2 separate regions of the Homo sapiens genome follow, and region 2 is linked to region 1. Evidence: promoter capture Hi-C in 16 types of primary human blood cells and fetal thymus (Javierre and others, 2016). All regions are on one chromosome and are shown on one strand. The core of a region is centred on a gene start or on the middle of the fragment in contact, and the rest is flanking DNA. Distances in the headings are between cores, read along the strand shown.

Region 1 (7,560 bases), core at 2,561-5,060:
AATGGCCAGGAGCGGGTGGATCGCTTGAGGCCAGGAGTTCGACTGGGACTGTAGTCTCAGCTACTCCGCAGGCTGAGAGGCAGAATTGCTTGAACCTAGGAGGTTGAGGTTGCAGTGAGCTGAGATCACACCACTGCACTCAAGCCTGGGCGACAGACTGAGACTCTGTCTCAAAAAAAAAAACAAAAAACAAAAAACAAACAAACCCCCTGCAAAAGATCCAACCCGGCAGTCTAACTACAGTCTGTTCTTAACCACTGACTTATGGCTTCTCTGAGGTAGGTATAATAACAGAGACTCATACAGATGAAGAAAATGAAACTCAGAGATTAACTGAAAATCATCCTGTTAACTCCAAAACCTGTATTTTTTCTATTATATCAAAAAAAAAAAAAAAAAGGAAGTATAGAATTGGGTTCTGAAGCCATAAAGGCTGGGTTGAAATCCTGGCTCTGCCACTTAATAGCTGTGTGACCCTGAGAAAGTTACTTCTCTTTGCCAGTTTCCTTATTTTCAAAATATGGATAACAGAATTTACCACATAAGGTTATGAGAAATAAGGAAATAAGCACAAAGTGCTCGGAAAGTTACCTTAGTAAGCACTGTTATTTCTATTTCCAACCTACCTCTTTTATTTATAAGGAAACAAAATAATTTGTCCTGTGTGCTACTCTGAGGAAGCAGCTGTAAGCCAGAGGTTAAGAGAATGAATGCTCAAGTTGGTTTGGGTTCAGATTTCAAGCAGATGTCCTTTAGAAAGTCAACCTTCCAAAATTTCAGCATCCTCATCTGTGGAGCACAGTATCACCTTGCAAAGTTATTGTAAAGATTAAATGAGGTGATGTACAACTAGCACATGGCAAGTGTTCCATAAATATTAACCAAGCGTCATCTCTGCATCTCTAGCAGCTAGCACAGTGTTTACTGAATAAACAGTGACACAATTAGGAAATTAGGACTTTTTTTTGTGGTTTCCTTCACTAGTCCTCTCATTTTCTTCCCTGGCAACATCCTATTTTTACATTTACCACCTCAACATCTTCCCCCTATTTAAAGACCAGTGTAGCAGCAAAGAAAAATGGCTAATGTTAAATGACGAGTTACGGGGTGCAGCACACCAACATGGCACATGTATATATATGTAGCTAACCTGCACGTTGGGCACATGTACCCTAAAACTTAAAGTATAATTAAAAAAAAAAAAGAAAAGAAAAATGGAACATTGAGCTGGGCGTGGTGGCTCACACTTGTAATCCCAGCACTTTGGGAGGCCGAGGCGGGCAGATCACTTGAGGTCAGGAGGTCGAGACCAGCCTGGCCAAAATGGTGAAACCCTGTCTCAACTAGCAATACAAAAATTAGCTGGGCGTGGTGGCAAGCACCTGTAATCCCAGCTACTCAGGAGGCTGAGGCAGGAGAATCGCTTGAACCCGGGAGGTGGAGGTTGCAGTGAGCTGAGAGATCCTGCCACTGCACTCCAGCCTGGGCTACAGAGTGAGACTTCAATCTCGAAAAAAAAAAAAAAGAAAAATGGAACTTTGTTGCCACTTAAAGTTACCACTTACCTGGTAGTAATCATATCAAAGTTTTAGCAAATGGAGTGCAAGTACAAGCAGCAACCACTGCAAATCACCAGTAAAGAAGGGGAAATGGGATTTTTACCTTATTTGCCACATGAAGAACTATGAGAAAATATTGACAATTGATGTAATTAAGGCATATCTTTTCCTTTTTCTGCTTTTAACCAAAGTTTCATTCCTATGCTTTTAAACCACACAGAACATATGAAATCCATGTTAACATTAAGCCCATTTATTAACAAGTATCTGGCCCAATAATTATAGTTAGGTAAATAAAATACTTCAGAACTATTTTATAGGCTGCCTTACAAATAAGATAACTGTCAAAGATGCATTCTCTTTATGTGAAAAGTTACACATGTTCTAAGTTTAACACTCCACAATGAACTGTGAAATTTCCCTAAGCTAATACTTAATATTGGAAAACTTCAACAGAATATTGGAAAACTTCAACATCATCTCTTTTCTCAAGCACCTTCATATTGCTCCCATAGTTCTTATAAATTGTCCAATAACCCAGACAAATTTCCTTGTGGACAAGAATTTTTAAAATTTAAAGTATTATATATTAATACAATGACTTTAGTTAAAAGTAAAAATTTATTGATCCAAAACTGCCAAAAACCTTATGCTAAGCAAAAACTTCATTTAAGCTTAATGCTCTTTTTAACTCCTGCACGAATGCCAGATAATTCACCACTATAACGTTGCTCTTCTTTACGAACTTCACGAACCTGGCCTCTTCTTCTAATTTTGGCTCTTCTGAACTTCTCTCTGTGTTTCACTCTGGGATTGCGATCAATCTTCTTTCTCCTAGGAGTAAGTCCCCTATTTTTAGCAATTTGATAGGTAATAGCTCTCTTTGCATTTTGATCTTCAAGAGCCTGTTCTTCAGTGCTATTTTCTTCTTTCTTTCTCTTTAGCTTTTGCCTGTCTTCTATTTCTTTATAGTACTTCAGTTTTGCTTTTTCATCAAAATCAGAATCATCAGAAAGATCTGTAACAGCACAGGCAGCAGCAGAAGTCTTTGAAACAGACTTTGGTTTGGGCTTGGTGGATTTTGCTTTTGGAATCAGTTCTTTCTTTACAGCATCATCCTTAAGTGTCAACAGATGACGAATTTCTGAGGACAGCTTCTGATCCACAACGGACAGCTTGTTGATCAAATTTCGGTAGGTAACAAGCCTTTCTATGACAGGATGTCCATGTGCTGGGACTCTCCTAGCTTTCAGGATCAAATAAAAACTGATGTTCGAGCAATAATTCAAGTAGAGGTTGTACTTGGTCCTCAAGTATTGGCTTCCTTTTCCGGGTGGAATGATCCCTTGTTCCACCAACTCTAACAATGGCTCCAGCTCATCCTTAACCTCTGTCAACTTGACTTTCAGGTCTTCTATCAGCTCCAAGAGTTCTGGTGATTCCTTTCGCAACATTTTCAGCTTCTCTTTCACTGAAACTTTAGCCAAATCCTTCACGACCCGTGTCTCAGCCTCATCTACCTGAGGCACTGGTTTTGCAAAGGCCTCAACCCAGGCGACACCAAAATCATCCTCTTGCAGCGCTTGGGCTAGGCGCCGCTGAATGATCTGTGCCTCCTCCTCCTCCTCTCTTTCCTCCTCCTCTGCCTCCTGTTGACTCTGCCGGCCTCGGGACTTGGAACCATAGTCCGTGTCATAGTAAAGTTTTTTCCTCTGACCCCACGACAAACTGGGATCCACAGAGGCCTCAGCTTCACTTTGCACGGAGCTCCCACCATCATCATCGGCATTCTCCTCCTCCTCCTCCTCCCCCGCATTCCCTCCATCTTCGTCGTCCTCATCGTCCATATCTAGGGCTAGCACCTCCTCCTCCTCCTCCTCGCCATCCTCCTCGTCTCCACTCTGTACTTCATTCCAGCCCTTAGCTAAGGCGGCCCGGGATCGTGCCTCATGAAAGTCATCTACCTGATCTTGGTAGTAGCTGGTGTCCCCTGGTGAGGGTGGCAATCCTAAATCATCTCCATTTTCGTCGGTGAGCGTGGGACCTGCCTTGGCTCGCACAGCTGCCCACTTAGCTGCTCCGCGCCGCCGGGATCTCCCCACCATGGCTCACAATCTCAGGTTTTACAGCGACTCCGGACTTTCGGCCACCACTGACTTCGGCGCAGGAATCAGGCGCTCCGGTAACTCGTGGCTCTAAACAGCAGCGCGCTCCCCTACCACCGGAGTTTGCAGACTCCTGATCGGCTACTGGAATTTCCTCTTCCTTCCGGCCCCCAGCATGCTCTCCGCGTGGCGTACGATTGAGGACTTCCGCTCGGTCCCTTAGTCGAGATCACGTTGATACCAACTTCCTTTTCACTGTGCCCTTTAACGCCAGTCGATTCCGGTGAATTAAAATCTTTCCGTGTGGAAACGATAGGATAAGGAAGTTCCGTTCCACAGAACGCTTTCTCGGGCTAATGCGCTTACTCTCGAGTGCCTGGGAGTGGCTGGGGGACGGAATCCTGACGGCACCTCCAGGCGAGGTCCCGATGGCCAATAGAGGGCGCTGCGCTTTACGCCCCGGAGAAGTCCCGGGGGCGTTCCATTGAGGTTTAACTGCGTGTGTACCCGGCGCTTGCGACCGGCAGTCTAGTGCTAGCGTAGTTTTCCTGCTCCCTTGTTTTCTCTTTTCTGCTTATCAGGCTGGAAGTTAATCAGATTGCTTTCCTCTCATTTCACCCCCACCCCCAATACCATATTTCTGGGTACCACAGCCTCAGGCAGCGCCGCTGGACTCCAGAATCCCACGGGAGGTTTCCGGGCGAGAGCGCAGGCCGGGCCTCCGGCTCGGGTTTACTCATCCCCATCGCCCTCTCCCTGCTCACAGGGCTCGGTGACCCGCTCCATGGGGATCGATAAAGCTAGATGACCCCGAGGCTGACAGTGGGAAGGCAGAGCCCCGCTGCAGGGTCTGACTCTTCTCAAGGAAGTCTGCCCTGTAATGTTAGAGTAATTCAGGGTGTAAGTTTTTAGGCATTACATATGTAAGGTTCAGGGTTAGTATTATTATACCTTTTAATGTAGGTAGTTGGAAGCTGAACTTTTGATACGTTGCTAAAATTAATGGTGACATGGCTGGGCGCGGTGGCTCATGCCCATAATCCTAAGCACTTTGGGAGGCCGAAGTGGGTGGATCACTTGAGGTCAGGAGTGCAAAACCAGCCTGGCCAACATGGGGAAACCCAGTCTCTACTACAAATACAAAAAATTAGCGGGGCGTGGTGGCGGGTACCTGTAATCCCAGCTACTCGGGAGGTTGAGGCAGGAGAATCACTTGAACCCGGGAGGCGGAGGTGGCAGTAAGCCGATATCGCACCACTGCACTCTAGCCTGGGCGACAGACAGAGACTCTGTCTCAAAATAAATAAATAAATAAATAAAATAAAATTAATGGTGACAATTTCTTTTTCTTTTGTTTTTTGTTTCTTTTTTCTTTTTCTTTTTTTCTTTTTTTTTTTTTGAGACGGAGGCTCGCTCTGTTGCCAGGCTGGAGTGCAGTGGCAATCTCGGCCCACTGCAACCTCCGACCCCCTGGTTCAAGTGATTCTCCTCCCTCAGCCTCCCGAGTAGCTGGCATTACAGGCACGCGCCACCACTCCCAGCTAATTTTTGTATTTTTAGTAGAGACGGGGTTTCATCATGTTGGCCAGGATGGTCTCCATCTCCTGACCTCGTGATACGCCCGCCTCGGCCTCCCAAAGTGCTGGGATTGATTACAGGCGTGAGTCACCGCGCCCAGCCAATGGTGACAATTTCTTTTCAGAAAGTATAGTGTCATTAGGTTAATAAAAATAATGCAAAATGTTAGAAAAGTGATACTTTGAAATAAACATTTTCCAAGTGCCTAAAGGTGTCCGAAACATTTTGAAATTTTTACAAGATTTTAGAAAATAAAATTAAATTAGAAAGTTGTGGGCAAAAGTTATGTTCTGATGGTAAGCATGAATTTATTTTTTAATGTAAATTTTAGTACATTTTGTCATTTAGCAGATATTAACTGCTTACTGTTTGTTGTAGAATGCTACAGACAATAGTGATGAATCAGCCAGTTAAGGACTGTATAATCAGGTAGAAAAGAAGACACTCATACAGATTACTGGAATACAAGGCAGTGTATGATGTAAACCCGGTGCTGTAAGAGAACAGAAGGATAAGAGATAACCTTTAGATTGCTGTTTTGGGAATATTGCTTAAAGAATATGACATCTATGCTGGAATTGTAGTTATTTCCTTACTTTAAATGTTAAATTTTCATTATTTAAACACTGTTGCATTTAGGCACATAAATAAAAATTTTTCATTTTTATTGCAAATTATTTGAGAATTTAGTGTCAGACTTCAAGACTAAAATGCATATACTATTATATATAAGTTAGAAAAATATTTTGGATATTTTAAATGGGAATGATCACATTAATATTATTTAGTTTATACTAAATGTTAAATTTCCTAACCAGAACAGAGTTGCAGTATTCAATGCATATTCAGAGAGTATCGTATTCTAACATTCTCAGATCCTTTGTTTTTAGAGACAGGTGCCTGCTGTGTTCCCCAGGCTGGGTAGAACTCCTGGGCTTAAGTGATCTCCTGCCTCAGCCTCCTGAGTAGCTGGGACTAAAGGTGCGTGCCGCTTCACCCAGTTTTTCAGATCCTTTTGATAAAGAACAATTGATTCTCCTGCCTCAGCCTCCCACGTAGCTGGGATTACAGGCACCTGCCACCACACCTGGGTAATTTTTTTGTGTGTTTTTTTTTTTTTTTTTTTTAGTAGAGATGGGGTTTCACCATGTTAGCCAGGCTGGTCTCAAACTCCTGACCTCAGGTGATCTGCCCACCTCAGCCTCCCAAAGTGCTGGGATTGCAGGTGTGAGCCATCGCACCCAGCCAATCTGAATCTTTATTTTATTGTGATGTCTGGCTCAGGAGTTAGCAAGTTACACTAATGAGAGCCAGCAGGTTAAAAAAAAATTGTTTTTGCCTTACTCTAAGCCCTTTATGGGATTTTCTTACTATGGAAATTAGGGAGTCTATGAATGACACATTAGGTGATGATACATTAGGATACTTCTTTCAGGGCATTTATTCTGGGTGTTGGAGGTATTGTATGATCACATTAGCTTAAACTAATCTTTATTTCTTCCTGGACTATTGAAACAATTATAATTAATAATAGCTAACATTGAGAGTGGTTATTGTGTGCTAGATACCATTACAAGCTCTTGAAACCATTATAACCCTGTGAAAAGTTACTATAATAATCTGTAATTGGAGATGAGAAAATTAGGCGCATATAGCTTAAGTGAGGTCATAAAGCTAATAAGTGTTAGAACTAGATTTAAACTAGAACAGTCCAGCTTCAGAATCCATGTTGTGCTATAACTAACTACTATACTATACTGGCTTTCAACTTTTCCTTTAATAGGTCTCCTCCTTTTAGTCTCTGGTACATTTGATCTGGTACATCAGATATATCTTCCTAGAATATCATTTCTGTCACCGCATATCCTGGTTCAGAAACTTTCATTTACTATCCAGATAGTAAAAACTTTCGTTTACTAACAAAATTTACAGCATACATGGCTGTCCTAAAGTTTTACCCCAAAACAACCTTTCCAGTCATACCTTTCATTACTACAAAAACCTTCAATGCTAAGCTAAGTACTCTACTATGCTTTATTCTCATTTGTCACTTTACCAATCTTCTGGGTGTTCAGAATTACCTGTATCAGAAATTTATAAATCATTGCAGATATCTTTTTGGTTAAGAAATTCTCACATAAGCCCATCCATAAGGGGACCTGTGCGAAGCTATTTGAAAAGTTATTTTTGGTAGCAGCGAGTTAGAGACAACCTGGATATCCGTCACTGGAAGAGCAGATCAATAAAATGTTGTGGAAGAACAGCATGGAATTTAGGAGCATAGGGTGATCATACATTCTGGCTTGCCCTGGATGGCC
Region 2 (7,560 bases), core at 1,867-4,366, 2.3 Mb after region 1:
CTTTCCTGAACTACAGAAACAATAAAAATAACAATAGCTCCAGCTTATTGATCACTTAACTGCCTTTAAAAAAATCATTTGAAACATTATAGCAATCCTTTGGAAATTATTTCTAAATTCCCATTTATTAAGATACTAAAGATTAGAAGTTAATTTCTCTAAGGTCTCATGCTATTGAGAGACAGAGCTGGAATTTGTACCCACGTCATTATGACTGCAAAGCTTACTCTCTTAATCACTACACAATAGCTTCAGACCAATGTTCAACATACCTAGAGTTCATCCTTTATAACCTCAACAACTTTTCCTATTTACTAACATGACTGAATTAAAAACCGCATTTTTTTACAGCTGTGCTCTTAGTTTAACATAAACTTACTTCATTTTATTTTTTGAGACAGGGTCCAGCTCTGTTGCCCAGGCTGGAGTGCAGAGGCGTAATCATGTCTCACTGCAGCCTTGACCTCGCCGGCTCAAGCAATCCTCCCACTTTGGCCCCCAGAGAAGTTGGGACTACAGGTGTGCACCACCATGACCAGCTATTTTTTATTTTATTTTCTGCAGAGATGTGGTTTCGCCAGGTTGCCCAAGCTGGTCTTAAAACTCCTGAGCCCAAGTGATCCACCTGCCTTGGCCTCCCAAAGGGCTGGAATTACAGGCATGTGCCACTGCAGCTGGCCCCATAAACTTATTTTAATAACAAAGATGCAAATATGGAATTCTATTTACATTAAAAATTACTCCTTAGTTCTAATAGGACAAATGTAGAATCAGGGAAAATGGCATTTTGATATCTTCTAAATTACTTGGCTGTTTTCTTATGCTCTTCTTTACAAAAAATTATTAAAGGAAACTCAAATATGCAAAAAAGTAGAGAAGAGAGTATAATATTAACTAATGTATGTGGAAATCAAAAGGTATCTGAGGCAGGTCTCAATCAATTTAGAAAGTTTATTTTGCCAAGGTTAAGAAAGAGCCCATGACAGCCTCAAGCTGTCCTGATGACATGTGCCCAAGGTGGTCGTGCACAGCTTCATTTTATACATTTTAGGGATACATGAGACATCAATCACCAGCTTGACTTCTTCCTTTGGCTTAGTGATGTTGGGGAGATTTTCCTTTCACATATGTATCGCCCAGCTTCAACAATTGTTAACTCATGGGTAGACTTGTTTAATCTATTCTCCTACCCATTTCGCTACACCTGCCACCAGTTTGATAAATCCCAGATACCATATAATTTCATTTGCAAATATTTATTACTATTCTTATTATTATTTTGAGACAGAGTCTAGCTCTGTTGTCCTGGTTGGGGTGAAAGTGGCACAATCTCAGCTCACTGCAACCTCCGCCTCCCGGGTTCAAGCAATTCTGCCTTAGCCTCCCGAGTAGCTGGGACTACAGGCGCATGCCATCATGCCTGGCTAATTTTTGTATTTTTAGCAGAGACGGGGTTTCACCATATTGGTCAGGCTGGTCTCAAACTCCTGACCACAGGTGATCCGCCCGCCTGGGCCTCCCGAAGTGCTGGGATTACAGGTATGAGCCACTGCATCTGGCCTGCAAATATTTTCATATGAATCATGAAATTATAAGAAATTCTTTAAAAAGCAAAACTTATTAAAACTAAAAATACAAATAGCAATTCCTCAGGATCATCAGATATTATTTAATGTGTGTGTGTGTGTGTGTTTGTGGCGTGTGCGTGTTCGTATATTCAAATTAGTGTTCAATTAAGGTCCTAGAAATGGGGCCACTCCTGGTGGCTTCACACCTGTAATCCCGCACTTTGGGAGGCCGAGGTGGGAGGATTGCTGGAGCCCAGGATTTAGACACTAGCCTGGGCAAGATGGCTAGGTGTTAGCCATCTTGCGGAGATGGTATATCTCCACAAAAAATGCAAAAAATGTGTCGGATGTGGTGGAGCATGCCTGTAGTTCCAGCTACCTGGGAGGTTAAGGTGGGAGGATCACTTGAGCCCAAGGTTGCAGTGAGCCATGATCACACCACTGCACTCCAGCCTGTGTCACAGTGAGACCACGTCTCAAAAAAAAAGAGGTACCACATTCTAGACTTCTAGACTACTTGTCTTTCCCTGAATATGCAGTTAGTTTGCCAGTTTGTCTTCATATCACGAAGTTACTTAGTTACCTTTTTCAGATTTTTCTTTCCCTTATAACTCAGTTATAGTTCAAGGAAGCAAAATTAGATTGTTTCCGTTGGACAATGAATCTTAAGCAAGTTTCTCTTGCAGATTTTACCACACTATGTAGTTATGTATCTACTGGTCATTTATTCTGTAGTTTCGATTCCTCGATGGTCTGCTTAAATCAATTTTGTGCCCCAGGGCCTTGATAACATGTTTAAATTAGTTATTAATTACAAAGACCTATTATGATACAATTCTTTCCCCAATTAAAAACAAAACTAGGCCGGGCGTGGTAGCTCACGCCTGTAATCCCAGCACTTCATCCTGGCCAACATGGTGAAATCCCGTCTCTACTAAAAATAAAAAAATTAACTGGGCGTGGTGGCGGGCGCCTGTAGTCCCAGCTACTCAGGAGGCAGAGCCAGGAGAATCGCTTGAACCTGGGAGGCGGAGGTTGCGGTGAGCCGAGATCGCGCTGCTGCACTCCAACCTAGCGACAGAGCGAGACTCCGTCTCAAAACAAACAAAAACTAGCAGGCTTTTGTGACTACAAACAAGCTGGTTGCATGCTGCACTGCCTTTGGGTAAGAGTGGAACTCCAACTAAGAAAGTACATCTGGTAAACATAAGGGATTCACCCAGACTTGTCCTAAATAAGACTCCGATTACCCGAACTGAATCAGGAGTCCTTTAGAGCGACTCTAGCTAAGAAGGCCTGTTAGGCCCTGCACTAAGAGTTTCAGGTGGGAAAATTGCGCCATCCAGTTATAGGCCGTACAGCGGGAACTCCATGAACAACCTGGGTAACCTAATCCCTGAATAAGACTCCTTCCAGGTACCAGTGGGCTGAGGGCGGCAGGGCGACGCGCTGACGTCACGTCACGTTCCTTTGCACGTCCCCGCCTCCCCGCCCCTCTCCGCACTGTGACGTTCCCAGAGAGGAACGAAGCGTAAACAGCGCAGGGCATTTCGGGAGCGGGATTGTTTCGCGCAGGAAGCAGGCTCCATTTTAGCGCCGCCCGCCGTCGCCATCTGTTTCCCTTCCCTCCCCCATACCTAGCCCGAGTCTGAGCCCTAACGAGAAGGCTGGGCCTAGGCCGCTGGATGCTGGAGTGAAAGGAAGGGAGAAAGGGAAAAAGCGGGAAGAGTCGAGAAGGCTGAGTGTTAAGAGGCCAAGTGCGACGCGCGTATCCGGGCAGACGGACTGACGGACGGGCCCGTGCTTCTGCCGCGGCTGCGGCGCCCGCGCGAGTCGCGTCTAAGCGGCGGCGGCGGTGGCAGCGGCGGAAACCGAAGGGGAGCCATGGCGGCTGACAGTCGGGAGGAGAAAGGTTAGTGCGGAGAAAGATGACGGGCCGAGGCGAGGCTGGGGCCCGGGAGTGGGGTGATGGAGCAGTGGTCGTCGTTGGGGGTGGGGGGTGGGGGTTGGGGAGGTTAGCTGGCCTCGCGAGGAGCCGGTGGCCCCCACCGAGACACTTAGACTCTGGCGGAGACCAGGCCTGCCCTTTCGTCCTCAGTCTCCATATGGCCTAGCACTTCATCTCAGTAGGGTTTTTCTTTGATGCGGATTTCACGCTTGACTTTCCGTTTAGCTGTCTTGGGCTGAGAGGGGCCCTTTCTGAGTTGCAAGCTCCTAGGTTTATTTCCTGGTAGGATCATGCGGATGTAACGCGTATTTTCAGGACAACCATTTCTGTTAGGCTAAAATTTGAAAACCCCTAATGCCGCGATCAACACTGGTGGTGTGGTAAGTGAGCAAGTTTAGGAAGTGGCACTGGCAGGTTATTAATCTTGAGAAATATCTGCAAATAACTTCTGGCTGTTCCTGTTAAATAGGCAAAGTGAATTACCCGTTTTGTTCCTCGAATACTTATTTTGGAAAAACATAGTACTTGGAAAAAGGAATACTTAGTTTGGAAAGATGACTGTGTGACTTAGGCTGGCAAAGAAATCCTGGGTGCTATTATGTTAGAAAAACCGTGTGTAGCTCCCAGAGGGTACAGTCAGAAACAAATGAATGCAAGTTACAGAGAGTTGGAGGGATAAATTTCAGTGAAATGTAGAGAGAACTGACGTTGCTGTAATGGAAAGATAGTAATACTAAGTTCCCAAGCCCTAGAGATATTAATGTAGGTCCTAGATCAGTGTCTCTCTGGAGAGTGGTCTAGATTAAATGCTGCTTTAAGATCTTTTTCAACCCTAAGATTAACATAATAGTCTTGGAAAGATTATAGTTAAAAATATGACACGGTCGCTGCTCTGTGTCTCACACATCTCTTCTGTGTGCCTAATTGATTTGGGGTTTTTTTGTCGGGGGTTGTTAAGTGGGCTCTAGAGTCAAGTTACATTAGGCGTGTAATCCTTTTTTCTTAATTTTTCTGGTTTCTGCATCAGGAGAGTCTTCATGCTTCAATGAACTGCCCTAGGTTAGGGACAAGCTGGGAAAGTGGAATGGGTGGGAATACTTTTAAGATACTGCCCTTATCCTAAAGTAGTTCTTTGATTAGGTTATAGCAGTTTAATGTTCCATCCTTAAACTAAATGCTAAAAAATCTCCCTGGGCCTTTTTTTTTTTTTTTTTTGAGAAATCCAGAAGTAATGGGAACATAGGATTGTATGGTGTTAGTGAGTAAAGGAAAATGCTTTTAATTAGTTAACTCAGTTATTAAAATACATGATCTTAATTAGTAAGTATTCAGCAAACATCTGATTGTCTTTCTAATTTATGAACTGTGGATATGGGAGTCTGTAGTGGTTGTGGTGGGCGAAATGAACCAAACACAAAAATGAGTAAAATTCAGTACTTCTCAAGAATTCGTTGTCTAAGATGAAAATATTTACAAGTCGTTAATAGAGTAGACGCAGTAATGCACATTGAAGAAGAAAAGTAGATGATTTTAAAAGTTTTGCTTTAGAAATGATTTAGTGATGATAATGCAGTCCAAATACATAAACTGTGTAGCTATTACTGGGAAGTAGTGATATCACCTGTTGTCTATACATAGGATACATTTCCCCACTTTTGAAAAGGTTCTTTGCCTCACATTTGCTTAGTTTTTTTTATTTAATTTTCATAACTTTATTTAAAAACTTGATGTAAGTGCTTTATCTTTATAGTTTAGAACAAAGATTGTTTCTGGACTACACGGAGAACTAGCACTTACCTACTGGAATTGTTTATTTCGTTTTGGGAGAGTTCTAGGTAACCTACAGGTTGTATCATTTACTTGATGATCATCATCACACACTTAGCTTTATAGTTAGAATCAATACTTAGGTCTTCCTCTCTTAAGGAAAAGTGGGACTCTTAAGCGCTTTATTGTCTTACATGAAACAGGAAATTATAAGGATAAACCCTCTAAAAATCTCAGTCATGTCACAAACGTTAAGTTCTTTCTCAAATGATTCCATAAATGGTTTAAGATCTTGATAGCAAATGAGTCTATAAGTTGCAGAAATTGGCAATTATATTAATCACAGAACAGTAAAGACCCTTGTTCATAGAGTTCTTGATGGGGTTTTGCACTTATCTGGGTAATAAAGACATGAATTTCTATAATCTATAACAATGCTTCAATAATACTCATACCTAGAAGCTGCAGCCCATATAAGTGGACAGATTGCTAGCTCCCTGTGATTCCTGTGGTGATAATTTGCCCAAGAAACTGGATTTGAAAGGTGTTGCAATGTTGGTGTTAACTAATATTAAATGCCATTTTTCTATATAAGGAGGAAATATGCATCTTTTCTATTATTGCAAACACCTTGTATAAATTGTATTAATCTTTTACAAAGTTCTCTACAAAGAACAGTTACAAAAGTTTAATCTATCCAAAATGTGTATGAGTAATGTGTAATGAGTTACTGTGTTAAAAATAACGTGTTTTCTAGATTACCAGACTAGAAGCTCCCTGAGTGCCCGGAGTACATCTGTCTTGTTCACTGGGTTCTTTGTATACAGTAATTGTGTTTCAGTACCTTGAGTATTTACCAGGTTGGACTTCATTGACTGACTGGTTAAATGACATGTGCAGTATGATAACGAAAGCTAAGAGTTTCTCAGTTTAAGTTATACAACAGTTCTCCCCTGACCCCCAACCTCTACCAGCCTTATTTTCCTGGTAAATACGTTCTAAGATCCACAGTGGATACCTGAAACAATGGATATTACTATATCCTATCTATACTATGTTTTTTTCTATATGTATATACCTATGATGAAGTTTAATTTATAAGTCAGGGACTGTAAGAGATCAACCACAACAATAATAAAGTAGAACAGTCATTACAGTATGCCATCATCACTACTCTTGTGCTTTGGGGCTATTATTAAGTAAAATAAGAGTTACTTTGAACACTGACACTGCCATATGTGGACAGTTGATCTACTACCCGAGACAGTTACTAAATGACTAATGGCAGGTAACATATGCAATGCAAATATTTGTTGACCAAAGGGATGATTCATTTTCCAGGCAGGACAGAGTGGGACAGTGCGTAATTTCATCACACTACTTAGCGCACAATTTAAAACTTATGAATTATTTCTGGAATTCTCCATTTTTATATCTTTGGACAGTGATTGACTCAGTTGACTGGGGGTAACAAACCCTCAAAAGCAAAACCTTGGATAAGTGAGGGACTACTGTATATATACACACAGTTGTTTTCAGACGGCTTCTGTCGCCTAGGCTGGAGTGCAGTGGAGCAGTCACGGCTCACTGCATCCCCAACCTCCCAAGGGCTCCCTAGTAGCTGGGACTACAGGTGTGTGCCACCATGCCCAGCTAATTTTTTATTTTTAGTAGAGACGAGGTCTTCCTATGTTGCCCAGGATTGTCTTGAACTCCCGGGCTTAAGCAGTCTGCCTGCCTTAGCCTCCCAAAGTGCTGGAATTACAGGTGTGAGCCACCGTGCCCAGCCGTTATACAGACGGTTACATGCAGGTGTGTGTGTATATATATATATATATATATATGTACACACACAGTCATGTGCACACACATGCACACAGTCACGTGCACACAAACACAGTCGTGTCATTTAACAATGAAGATGGGCATTGTTAGGCGGTTTTGTTGTGTTATCATAGTGTGTTTACACAAACTTAGGTGGCATAACCTACTACATATCTAGGCTGTATGGTATAGTCTATTGTCCCTAGGCAACAGATCTGTTGGGCGTGCTACTGTAGGCAGTAGTAACACAATGGGAAATATTTGTGTATCTGAACATCAAAATGATGACTGTGCCACAACATTTGTATATACTATGTGTATATACTATGGCCCTCACTATAGTAATTTCTTAGGATAAAATTGCCTGTCTTGGTTCACTTTAGTTTGGGCTCTGTAAGGCATAGAGTACATATTGATACTCCAATATATTTATTTTACCTATAGTATAAGTAA

The links. Contacts are between HindIII fragments. The CHiCAGO score rates a contact against its expected background, and 5 or more counts as called.
Region 2: a contact is called between the fragment with the promoter of YTHDC1 here and the fragment with the promoter of UTP3 in region 1, in 3 of 17 cell types (naive CD8 T cells, total B cells and total CD8 T cells). The highest score is 10.1, in naive CD8 T cells.

What each region holds. Positions count from the first base shown.
Region 1 is chr4:70,684,782-70,692,341 of GRCh38, reverse strand. UTP3 (UTP3 small subunit processome component) reads right to left here and starts at 3,810. Exons shown (of 1, transcript NM_020368.3): 1 at 1,791-3,810. The coding sequence starts at 3,664. The coding sequence ends at 2,225. LOC101927297 (a long non-coding RNA gene) reads right to left here. Exons shown (of 4, transcript XR_938860.3): 4 at 5,526-5,735. RefSeq lists enhancers at 3,685-3,744, 2,946-3,914, 4,445-4,534, 3,915-4,885. The HindIII fragment of the contact is 6,672 bases long and covers 2,236-7,560 here.
Region 2 is chr4:68,345,646-68,353,205 of GRCh38, reverse strand. YTHDC1 (YTH N6-methyladenosine RNA binding protein C1) reads left to right here and starts at 3,116. Exons shown (of 17, transcript NM_001031732.4): 1 at 3,116-3,480. The coding sequence starts at 3,453. RefSeq lists an enhancer at 3,168-3,747. The HindIII fragment of the contact is 7,711 bases long and covers 225-7,560 here.